Linked DNA regions of Homo sapiens: region 1 is linked to region 2. The links are contacts of gene promoters, found by promoter capture Hi-C in blood cells and fetal thymus (Javierre and others, 2016). All regions are on one chromosome and are shown on one strand. Each heading gives the region's core, a stretch centred on a gene start or on the middle of the fragment in contact. The rest is flanking DNA. Distances are from core to core; before and after follow the strand shown. Region 1 overlaps LOC101929710 (a long non-coding RNA gene). Region 2 holds the start of ELL2 (elongation factor for RNA polymerase II 2).

Evidence for each region. The method cuts DNA at HindIII sites, captures the fragments that hold promoters and counts their contacts. A CHiCAGO score of 5 or more calls a contact.
Region 1: a contact is called between a fragment that was not itself captured here and the fragment with the promoter of ELL2 in region 2, in 1 of 17 cell types (endothelial precursors). The highest score is 5.4, in endothelial precursors.

What each region holds. Positions count from the first base shown.
Region 1 is chr5:96,231,016-96,237,033 of GRCh38, reverse strand. All of the region lies in intron 1 of LOC101929710 (a long non-coding RNA gene), which reads right to left. It also overlaps a transcript of CAST not described here. Among named protein-coding and RNA genes, the nearest start is that of MIR583, 150 kb to the right of the region's middle. The HindIII fragment of the contact is 3,385 bases long and covers 1,703-5,087 here.
Region 2 is chr5:95,959,238-95,965,334 of GRCh38, reverse strand. ELL2 (elongation factor for RNA polymerase II 2) reads left to right here and starts at 3,484. Exons shown (of 12, transcript NM_012081.6): 1 at 3,484-3,760. The coding sequence starts at 3,614. It overlaps LOC101929710 (a long non-coding RNA gene), which reads right to left and starts at 3,334. Exons shown (of 5, transcript NR_130776.1): 1 at 3,299-3,334. It also overlaps a transcript of CAST not described here. RefSeq lists silencers at 2,928-3,395, 3,351-3,590, 3,661-4,070 and an enhancer at 2,875-3,632. The HindIII fragment of the contact is 3,633 bases long and covers 2,238-5,870 here.

The DNA of each region.
Region 1 (6,018 bases), core at 2,146-4,645, 270 kb before region 2:
CAACTTTAGTTGTAATATACAACCAAAACAAGAGACAGGCTATAGGATTCAGAGGAAGAAGACAGTACTTCTGACTGGACAAATGAAGGATCAGGAAAGAGGCCACGGCATTTGAGCTGGCTTTTCAAAGACAGGGTTGCATTATCACACTACACATGGACAGGAATGTAACAGAGTACTTTATTTCACAGTCAAAGAAGAACCCAGGTCCAGTAAGTTATCATGGTCATAAATACACAGTATTGTCTAACTTAGGGCTGCCAGATAACATATAGGCCACCCAGTTCGATTTGAATTTTAGATAAATGATTTTTAGTATAAGTATGTCTGAAACATGCAATATTTGGGGAGAAATCACCACAGGGCCAGGAGTAGATTATCAGAAAGTTCAGCAGAAATGCTTTCACGTGCATTTTGGGCATTTGGAGAATGATTTGTATAGTCTTTCATTCATTCCTTACTCCTTAAATCCTCTTAAAAATTCAGCGGGATTCACGGAAGTGCCTATTTATGCACATTTCAGACCCACTCATGCTGGGCAAAGGAAAGGGAAGACTCTAGAGTCCCCGAGGAGACAGTACTAGACTAGAGACAAATTTAAGTAGTGAGCCTTGCTCCTGTCTCTACCAGGACACAGGGTGCACCAAGCTCTTGGAACTGGCAGATTCACGGGGGACCAGGTCAGGGTACAAACAGCCAGGCCAAAGACAGAGAATCCAGGAGTTTGGCAAAGACAGCCATTTTTCCTGGATGCATCACTGAATTATGAGTTTTAAAGGAATTGCAGTTACCATTATGGTATTTGGGATTTCCACAAAACTGTTAAATATTTCCCAAGAGGAGCCAACTCCAAAAATAGCCACAGATAGATAGGTAGATAGATGGATGGATGGATAGATAGATAGAGAGATAGATAGATAGACAGACAGACAGACAGATAGACAGACAGACATAGAGATCCTGGTTACTTAATAAGAAGTAATTATAACATTCCAATACATTTTCAATGCTATCGAAAAGCAAAAGAAATTACAAGAAGAACTGTTGATCTTTACAGCATTTTCTCATTCCCCTGGCAGAAATCTGGGACCTTGTGATCTGGAATAGGGGTATCCATGGTCTAGGATGAATTCTAGTATCCTCAGGCAGATCTGGGAACCCAAGTTACTCGCAGAGGAGTGAACTGGAAGCGGGTGTGGAAAATAGGCTCCGGCTCCTGAGTGACTTCAAAACAGAAGGATTTTCAGAGGCAGGGAATTTCTGAGATTCTAAGGAGATTTTTAGAATTTTCTTCCCCCAGAGGGAGGAAACTAGGTCATGTGCTCTTAACCCAGTGAGGTTTAGGGCCATGGTGTGGGGAGAGAAAAGATAGTTGACCTTAATTAGCTACAAAAAAAGCCCAGAACTCTTGGGATTAATCCAAAATCAAGCACAACTTCTAGTGGGGAGATTCAAGCTCCCAAATTCAAGTATTAGTAGAATGAAGCCAAATCTAGGACAGCTCCTAAATAATTACCATTAAACTAACATTCACATGTTGTAAGAACTAAATTTATCCTCGCCACAGCTCCTATTTATAGAAAAGGCTCAGCCACTACCAGATAGCAAGCTCTGTGAAGGGATGGACTACGTCTGTCCTTTTTACTGCTGTATGCCCAGGGAATGGAAAGTAGTTGTTATATAGCTGATACTCATTAAAGCTTTGTTGAACTGAATTGTTCAAAGCCACACAATGAGTTAGTGTGAGAGCTGGGATTTTAACCCCAATTTGACACCAAAAACCATGCTTTCATCTATATTACACTGCCTGCCAAGGCAGACTTAGACTAGAAATGATCCCAAGGCAAACTCCTGCTCTGGTTCTCTTCCTAAAGCTCTCCTGGGGTCCACCAAGATGAACCAGGAGAATCACTTGGAGGGGCACCTTTGGGAAAATTTATGAATCTAGAAATTGTGGCAGACACTACTAGTTGTCTTTCAAAAATCTATTTTTTCCATTTGCCTCTTGCTAAAAGAAACTTGATTTATTCAGGTAACGAAGTTCCCATTTTTGAATACTTTCTTGAAATATTTGGTATCTTCATTATGATAATCATTGCATAAGTGTACACACATATCAAAACTCACCAAAATGCATACTTTCTACATATGTAATTTATTTTATGTAAATTATACTTCAATAAAGCAGTAAAACACACACACACATACACACATACACAACCCACACACACCTCCCCAGACTTTGTTGTAATACATTTCTGGCCAATGAGATATAAACGTAAGTCTGCTGGATGGAACATCCATTAAAGTTATTATTTTACTGGAAAAAGAGAAAACTTGTCTGGATGAACATTTAACTTTTGAATTTCCCTTTTCTTTCTGCATAGAAATGGAACAGCTGTCATGAGAGAATGAGGGCAAAATTCACAAGCCAAGGCTGGTGGAACAGGAAAGCTAGAAGGAAACTCGGTCCTTCATGACTTTCTTGAGAGGCTGCCCCAACTGTGGCCTGTCCATCTCCTGACTTCTTATTTTGGGAGGAAAAAAAATTCCTGTTTGGTTGACCTGATTTAGTATGGTTTGTGTATATGTCGCTGCCTGCAATTACCAAATGACAATATTCCCATGCAAACTGTAAGGCAGATATTACAATGCCATTCCTCAAAAATGTTCAATTGCTGTAGAGTAAAATCTAAAGCATCTCTAGCCGCATTCCCTACTACGGCCTTCCATGAACACTTCCTTCCAGCCCCAGCAGGCTGTTTGCCATGTTTCAAACAAGCAATACATTTTAAGACTAATGCTTTTCTCTCAACCTGATACATCCTTTCTTCCATAAACTTTGACAGACCCTGAAAAATTCAAAGAATTGATGCAGGCTACAGTTAGCCAGTGGAAGACTTGAGAGGAAAATTTACATTTCCTGAATATAAGCCAAGTGATCTTTGTCCTATGTACCCACTTCTTTGTTTGTGTGTGCCCACTTCTGAAGCAGGGAAATCAAATGCTCTAACCAAAGGATCTAATTTATTCTTGGCTTTTACTTAATATCAAAAACTCTCACTTTAAAAAATAATTTTTTTTTGCAATTATGTAAGAACAAAAAATCTTATCTACAACGTCATTAGAAAAAAATTAAGATTATTAAAATTTTAAGATTATTTCTTCTTGTTCTACAGTGTCTGATTATACACGAAGATATAAGGTTTCTGTTTTATATATGTAATAGAACACATATGTAAATATGTTATCTTACAGTCGAAACTATACAGGCTAATTATTGTGTTCTAACATGCTGTGTGGTAGACAAACACCCAAGTTACTGACCAAAATATTTTGTTTCTAGAGCTACTTATTAAGTAACTAGGAGAAAGTAATTAAACCTTCCAGTTCATCCATCTGTCAAGGAGAGAAAATATTGTATCTGCCATCTGTCCAGATTTCAGTTATGGAAAATATTGATGAGAGGAGCTAAACCAATATAGGGCTTTATGTCAACTCAATTAAAAGAGTTAATCCATATTGAATGTTCTGTTCTGTGAATCAATTTTTTTATTTTTGTTTTTTGAAGTATTTTAAAATACAAAGAGTAATGTAACACAAGTTACTTGCCACATAGACCTAACATGTTAATATTACTCCATTTTTGCTTCCTATTTACTTATTCTTTTAATAAAGTGTTCTAGATACAGCTAAAACTTGAATCCCAGTCCTATATCTTTCCTCTCCTGTTTCCTCAGAGGTGTTCTGAAGTTTTAGGGAATCAATTCCACGAAAGTTTGCATAATTTTACTAAATATGTATCCATGAATTAAAATAGTATTTTGGGGTCTTTACATTTTATATATTTGATATTGTATCTACATATAGCAATTTGCATTTTACATTGAATATTTTGGTTTTTGAATTTTTAATACTAATAGATGCAGATTGGTTGAAGTGCTTCATTTTAACTGTCAAATAGTAATAACCCACAGTTAATTTGTTAATTCCCTTACTGGTGGGTTGTTAGGTTGTTTCCCCTTTTTTACTATTCCAAGCACTGCTGTAATAAGTATCTGTGTTAACATATGCAAGTGTTTCTCTAAAATATAGTACTGTGTTTTGAAGTAGAATTGCTATACACTTTGTGCATTTTTACAAACTTCCTCTAGAAATTTTCATTCATTTCTAGACAAATTTGGAGTAAATTAATACTTTTATGAATCTCTCTATCCATGAACATAGTATGCTCTCCAATTGGCTTAGAAAATAATCTATTTTATGTCTTTAAATAAAGTTTTGTAATTTCATGCATGAAGAAAGGAAAAGTTTTTGTGAGATTTTTAATAGGAACCTTATAATTTCTCTTTCTTTCTTGGCCCCAACTATCCCCCTCAATTTTTTGTTCTTTTTAAAATTGCATTTATACAAGGTTATGCTGTTATACACAAATTCTACTGAGTTTTTCGTATTAAATTTTGATTGTTAATTTTGTATTCTGCAACCTTGCTGAACACCATAAATTCTAAAACAATCTTTTCTCCATAGATTTTCTTAGGTTTTCCAAATGTCCTTTTCTGCAGATCCCCATAGATTTTCTTGCAGACAACCATATTTGTGGGTAAGGACAATGTTATTTGTTTTCAATCCTTGTAGTTTTTATTTATTTGTTCTATGTTATTTTGTTAACTAGGACTTCCAGTATCACACACAGTATAAGTTGTGAAAATTGGCCTTTCAATTTTGTATCAGTTTTCTCTATTTGCATCAGAGTCACCTAGTAACATTTTTAGAAATGCAGATTCCCAGCTTCCAACACTCTCATCCTCCAGAGATATCAGTTCATAGATTTAGGGTGGGATTGATCAATTTCAATTTTTTGTAAGTATCTTCTCCCCAAAATTCTGATGGAAATTGACCCCGGATAAAACTTTAAGTACTTTTCTAGCTAAATATATTATGTATGAAAAGTTTATTGTTATTTATATTGAATCTCCAATATTTTAGTTCTTTTACCACCAACACATACCATATTTTCTTTAAAGCACCATGGACCTATTGGCACCCCTTTCTCCCCAGTCCAGCCCTGATCAGAAAAAAAAGCTTAGGATCCACTTGCAATTGGGATTGGCATCATGAACCAGTTTTCATTTTCCAAAACCTACCGGTAATCTCCTCAGTTCTGATATCCAGCTACAGTATGGTATATGTTGGTGGTAATGGAAGCTAAATAACTTGGCCACTGCCAAAATTCAATGTGCTTTTTTTTTGCCTTTTTATGTTTTTATTTCTAGTAATAATTGTTGTTCCACAATGAAGATAATAAACAATAAAGTATTACCCAACACAATTATTTTTATATTATATCATAATTATTCTAACAGCTTTATTGAGATATAATTTATACCATAAACTTCACCTGTTTAAGTGTGTTTAAGTGTACAATCCAATGGTATTTAGAATATTTACAGAGTTGTGCAACCATCACTCAAATCTAATTTTAAAACATTTTCATCATCTCATAAAGAAACCCATCCCCATGAAAAATCACTTTCTATTCTTTTCTCCCCTTCTCCTGCAAACCCTGGTTAAGCGCATTATTTTCTGCCTCTATAGATTTGCTTATTCTATTCTGTTTTGTGAATACATGAAATCATACAATATGTGGTATCTTACGACTGGCTTCCTTCATGCAACATATTTTTAGGTTCATCCATGTTGTAGCATATATCAGCACTTCATTCCTTTTTGCGGCCAAAGACCATTCTATTCTATGGACATAAAACATTTTTGTCTATTTATTCATCAGTTCATGAACATTGCGGTTGTTCCTACTCTTTGGATATCATGAATTATATTTCTATGAACACTCATTTACAAGATGTTGTTTAGACATGTTTTCAATTCTCTTGGGTGTATATTCTAGAAGGAGAATTGCTAGATCATATGGTAAATCTATGTTTACCATTTTGAGAAACTGCCAAACTGTTTTCCAAGGTGACTGTACCATACTTTTTCCCACCGGGAAAGTATGAG
Region 2 (6,097 bases), core at 2,235-4,734:
CCAGAAAATGCTTATTAAAATTTTTAACTTAAGTGTTACAGAATAAATATTAGGAGATTTACATAAAAATCTTTGTTTCTCAGCTTTAAAAAAAAACAGAAGATCTGGCAACATTGGGCCACCTTATGTTCACCTGGCAACAATCAGCTGAACCAAGAAATCACTGAGCCCTTTAAACCTCCCAGCTCACTACCGTCCAGCATCTTCAGTCCCTATGACATTGTATCTGCCCTCTTTCACTCATTTGGATATCCAGTGGTCCCTGAAGGCATCTGAATTGGTGACCTCTGTACCAAAGATGTGAGAAACAGTCATTAAATATGCAGCAACCTGGAATGAGGGGTGGCCCAGCATTTGAATGCCAGAGAAGGCCTTGATAGTCACATATCCTTTGCCAGCACTGTATACTAGACATGAGAGATGGAGCAGGCCCTGCATCAAATTCCTTTTAGCCTTTTTCCTGCACTGAACTGTCTTATATGACAGATTTCTTCTCAGTTATTAAATCTAATCCATAGCTACTCAGTGTATATAAGGACTGGAAGGACATTTAAAGAGCTGATTCCGACCCTGCCTCTCCTGGTTATGTTAGGCAGGTTGCTTTTAAATAAATGGGGGTCTCAGTTCCTCCTTCATAAAACTAATGTGTCCACCTGGAATCATCATGAAGATCATTTTTAGTTGGGCTGTCTCCATCTATACCACCTCCAACTTATCTAGAATCTACTCAACCCTCAAGAGCTGTTCAAGTTCTATCACCTCCATTAAACCTCTTCAGACTTCTCCTTTCTTTGAATTTTTGAGCTTATCACCAACACCGTCCAAATTAGCATTTACTAATTTTCTAATTGCTTTGCTTTGACTATACTGGTTCACTTGCCACACTGAAACAGAAAATTCCTCTAGAGACTTTACAGTTTAATTTTTAAATCCTCTACCGCATGTTATACTTAACTGGTATTCAATGATTATTTAATTATTTAAACCAGATAAAGATACAGAAAATATGTATAAAATGGCAACCTTCCCAAAAAGCACCTTTCATCAGCCTCCTCAAAATAAATTATCCTAACCAGCATCATAACTTGACCATCTGATTCAGGCAGGCGTAATGTGTACTATGCCTGTGAGACATCAATGAAAAGACACTGCTAGATTACCATATTACTTTGTACTTGATCATTTCCTCCTTCCACAGTTGAAAAGCTCAAAAGGGGAAAAATACAAACAACCATTAACTCACTACAATAATATATTAATCCGTGAAAGATTTGTTACCCACTAAAATAGGGCATGAGAAAAATTTTCCTATTATAATTTTTAAAAAAAGTCAATTACTAGTAAGAAGCTACAGGTCAGATATTTGAAAACTACAACGAAAACCATCCTTACTCCTCCCCCACCCGCTTGGATGTCATCAGAAATTCTGAGTAAGAGTAGGCCAAGTTAGGATATCATGTGGGTGGGGATTTACCCACATTCACCGGAAAAGCAGTGGGATACAGGTTTTACTTGTTCCGGTCAAACCTCCCTTCCCCCTCACCTCCCAAATAATTAAGGCTTTAGCTATGTGCTCAGTCCTTTACTATCAAAAAAAAAAAAAAAAAAAGAGAGAGAGAAAAGAAAAGTTCAAGTACAGAATTATTTTTAGATTATAGTCCGCTTAGAGATGAACTATTTGAATAAGGTTTCTACTTTTGGAAAGCGGAGAAAACTAGGTAGTAAAGCCTCTATTTCCCTTCTAAGAGTAAACTTTTTAATCCAATTTGATGATTACCTTAATATCTCTACTACATGAATTTAAGATAACACTGTATCACTAAAGTAAATGAAATTAGCAAGCGTTAATCACGTCTTAACAGCTAGCCAATCTTAGTGGATTGAAATTAAGTCAATTTACAAACTGTTTTCCTGTGATGGAGTAACACTTAATACAGGTGTTTCCACTTAATCCAATTCATTCTGTAATTCACATTATACACCTACTATGTTTGAAGGTCTGAATCAAAAAGGAGTGTACCCGTACGGTGGGGAAGGCATTTATTGGGAGGGGAGGACATGGAATCATGGCCCTAATCCATTTAAAATAATGAAAAATACTGATTAAATATCTATAAACTTTCCCGGGGAATCCCAGTAGAACAGAACATGGTTTTATAAGCTGAGGGTAAAAACAAGCGTCTCAGTTTTTTTATTAAAAGAACTTTTTTAAACTGCCTTTCAACAGTTTGAAAGCTTTCAATGGTTTGTTTTATCTGGTGTTTCTGATCAACCAATTAATCCATCCTCTGACAGGAACCCATCTGTCAGTCTATCCACACACAATCTGAAAGGGACTCCAGATTAGGCTCCCTCTTTTAGCCACGCCTACACAGGAAGCATCCTGTGGATGGAATGGAAAGTATGCCAGGCCTTTGCACGCCCCTCACGCCCCCATCTCCTTCGCTTAACCTCGACAGCCTCTTACCTTTAAACCCTAGCTAGGTTTTCACACAGCCCTATCAAATAAAAAGGACAATACTCAAACTGAATTAGAGAATGAGAATTGTCGAGGTTTCTTTTAATTTAGATCAATGCCAGTTTTACTCTTCTTCTAGAGTCCTTTTTAAGGAGATATCATCCCCACCAGTTGTGATCCCAGAGAATCACAACAGGGCATGGCGTAGGAAAGACCTCGAAGCTCAATTCTCTATTATACCATGCCCACCATACGAAAGGCATTTAACCTCCCGCGTGATTTTGTCCTTAAGATGCTCCACAAGATCTAACACAACTCCTACATCTAAGAGTCGACTCACTAATTTCAAGGGTTTTTGTTTTTGTTTTTGTTTTTATAAGCTCTGCGTGTGGCACCCGATAACTTCAAGTTTAGAGTGAGCAGTTTCCTCCCAATGCCGTTTGCTCAACTACAGTACTAGGAGTTTTGAGGAGCAGCTCTCTAGCGAGTCCTCCTGCTGCGTCCTCCCCCACACGCACGCACCAAGTTCCACAGCTTCCGCAGCCGTCGGGGAACAAAGTCCTTATTTGGTCACGGCCATCCCCTTACATAGTGGAGGTGGAGATCCTCCTCTCCAAGGACCACCCGCGTAGGGCGAGATTCCCCAATTCTGACTTTTCACTACTATCCCCCACAGGGGCGGGGCTCCAACTCCAGGTAACCAGACCAGGCAACCTGGACTTCCAATTAGCAGGGGAGTCCCCAAGCCAGCCTGGCCAATCTCGGCCGGCTAGCCAAGACGACCAGACGTGACGTCAGACATGATTAAGTTGGCGCGTCACCTAGACGTCAGCCTCTTACCTCTCGGACGTCCCGTCCCAGGAGCAAAACTCTAGTGACTTTGGGCCCGCCCCCGTGAGAGTGGAGGGCGGCCGATGAGGGCGGTTCTGAAGGGAACAAGACCAATGAGACGAGCCCGGGGCGGGGCGCGGGGCCGGAGGGTGGGGCGGGTGGCGGCGGTGGCAGTCCGAGGTCTGGCTCCGCGCAGTATATGACAGTACGTCAGCAGCGGGATGGCCCTAGCAGTGGCGGCGGCTGCAGAAGCCCAAGCAGCCGCGGCCGCAGTGGAGGCTAGAGCCGGAGCGGCGGCGGCGGCGGCACCCCGGGGAGTTTAAGATGGCGGCGGGGGGGACAGGGGGCCTGCGGGAGGAGCAGCGCTATGGGCTGTCGTGCGGACGGCTGGGGCAGGACAACATCACCGTACTGCATGTGAAGCTCACCGAGACGGCGATCCGGGCGCTCGAGACTTACCAGAGCCACAAGGTGAGCGGGCCGGCCGGCAGGCTGGGCTCAGAGAGGCAGAGCGCACCCCTCACGGCCTGGCCGCGCCCGGGTGCGGGGCCGGCGGAGCCGTGGCTGGCAGCTGCTACCGTCAGCGCCCGCAGCGGCCAGGCAGGGCAGGGCCGGGCAGGGTGGCTGACGCCGCGGTCCCGGGCTAGCCTGGGCGTTGGGGAAGCGGGCAGTCGGGCGGCCCCTGGCGGCGGGGCCGAGGCAGCCGCAGCCCTGGGTCGGCTGCGCTGCCGCTGCGGGACTTTCCGACGGCCCCCGAGGATTTCCTGGCTTGTTGGGTCCCAAGGAGGGAGAGAGGCCCCGATAAGAGAAGTGAGATGACCACGCTACCCTCGGCGGGGAAGGAGGGTAGCGAGCAGCGTATGGGCAAGGAACCAGGGACGACTCGCGGGCACCAGCTGCCCGCGTTTTCCAGTTACATAGGCACGGTGGATCCTCAGAGACAGGACACAGGCGCTCCGCGTGTGGGGGTGGGACCTTGTATTCCCAGGGACTTGGGGACACAGGCGCTCCACGTATCAGGGGACACACTGTGTGCTCGAAGGGATGGGGACTCGGGCGCATGGTGAGGGGCACACGGTGTACTCATAGAGATAGGGACTTAGGCAGTCCGTGTAAGGGGGCGGCGCACACTGGAACGGCGGGGACACTGGCGCTTCGCGTACGGGGGGGGAGGGGACACACCTGCATTCCCAGGGACTCCGGGACACCGGCGCATCGCGTTACTGGAGACGCGCCGCGTCCAGGACGGACACAAACCAACACAGTGCCCTGGGGAGAGACCTGAGGACTCACGCACACTTAGCGCTCCCCGGGAGCAAGACATCGGGTTCTGGAGAGAGAGGTTCACGGACGCTCAACGTACCCGAAAAAGCTCCCGGCGTCTTGGGCTGACTCTGGGAAGTGTAAACGGGGAACGAGCCAGAGCCAGAAGGTGTGGGGAGGATACAATGCATCCCGGGCAGAGACTCGGGCCTCTCACCCCTCGTTTTCGAGAGAAGCCCATGGACACACACACACACATATACACACACACCCCTCCAGTACAGAGAGAGGCTCAGATAGGCGCACATACACTGTAATTGGACTACAAATCCAGACGCTTTCATGTTGGAAAAAAAATGGGAGAGACAGGGAAGCACCGAGAAGGGACGCGGTAACCAGGGTGCATGGGGAAACAGTTTATGGACATGCAGTACTGTGGGAGACCGGAGTGGATACATCGCGTGAGGGAGGGATATGCCATATGGGGGAACCTGTAACGTTTTACAGGAGAGGAGAGAGTCGGAAGGGAGATAGAACCCACGGGGCATCTTACAAATAGCCCGTTCGGTACTGAGGAACACACTCCAACCGGTCTCGTACAACAGACAGAGGGGCAGAAGGACACCGAGACACAGATTCACATAGTTATTCAGCTAAAAGTGGGGAAAAGAATTGACATCTGTTGAGCTCCCACTAGTGCCAGGCACTTTAAATACATAGAGCGAAGGCAGAGTCTGAGGCAGAGCGGCAGGAGAGGTGTGAACCCTGGTTTACTGGGAGTGTATTCAGAGAGCCCCCCCACCCCATAAGTGTGCACACAGAGGAAGGCATTAGTTGTGCACGCTTTGGATAGAAAATGAACTCACATGATAGGGTATTTGTAAACAGCAGTGGAGGCTCAGAGGTGAGTGTATTGTTAGGAAGGTACTCACAGAATTGGGTGGACACATGAATGTACGTGCTAGGACACTTGTGTTACTAACCAGAGAAGCATATGGTGAAAAGGACTCACAGACTTTGTGTGGTGGGGTGAGGGGGCGTCAGGGAGGAGTGCATGCACAGGGAGAAAGGTACCGTCCTACATACAGTGAAATCTCGAGAGAAAATCTCAAGAATGGCTGGGAGAGATACAAGAAATAGAAAACTGCATGTGCCAATAGCTACTCTTAGATAGGTGCACCTGCAGTGAAGAGACCAGCATCAGACGGAGTGGGAGGCCCATATGGGGGAAGCCAGAAACACAGGCAGAGGGACAGAAGCAGACAGTGGAGAGAAACTCTGGAGAGAAACTCAGCCTTGCAAGATGGAAAGATAAGCTTGCCTGTTCCAAGGGAAGGGCGTGGGAAGGAATGGCAGTGGGAAGAAGGTAGGTCTGGGGATGTGAAGAGAAAACCCAGAGGCCCAGAGAAAAAGAAGTCAGCAGGAGGCGGCCAGCCCCTATTCAGGAGCAGACCCGAGGAGCAGAGAAAGACTTGACACACAGTGGGTGGGAAGAGGCATCTCTGGGGGCAGTAGGTCAGCCAGCTACCTTGGGAAAACAACAGG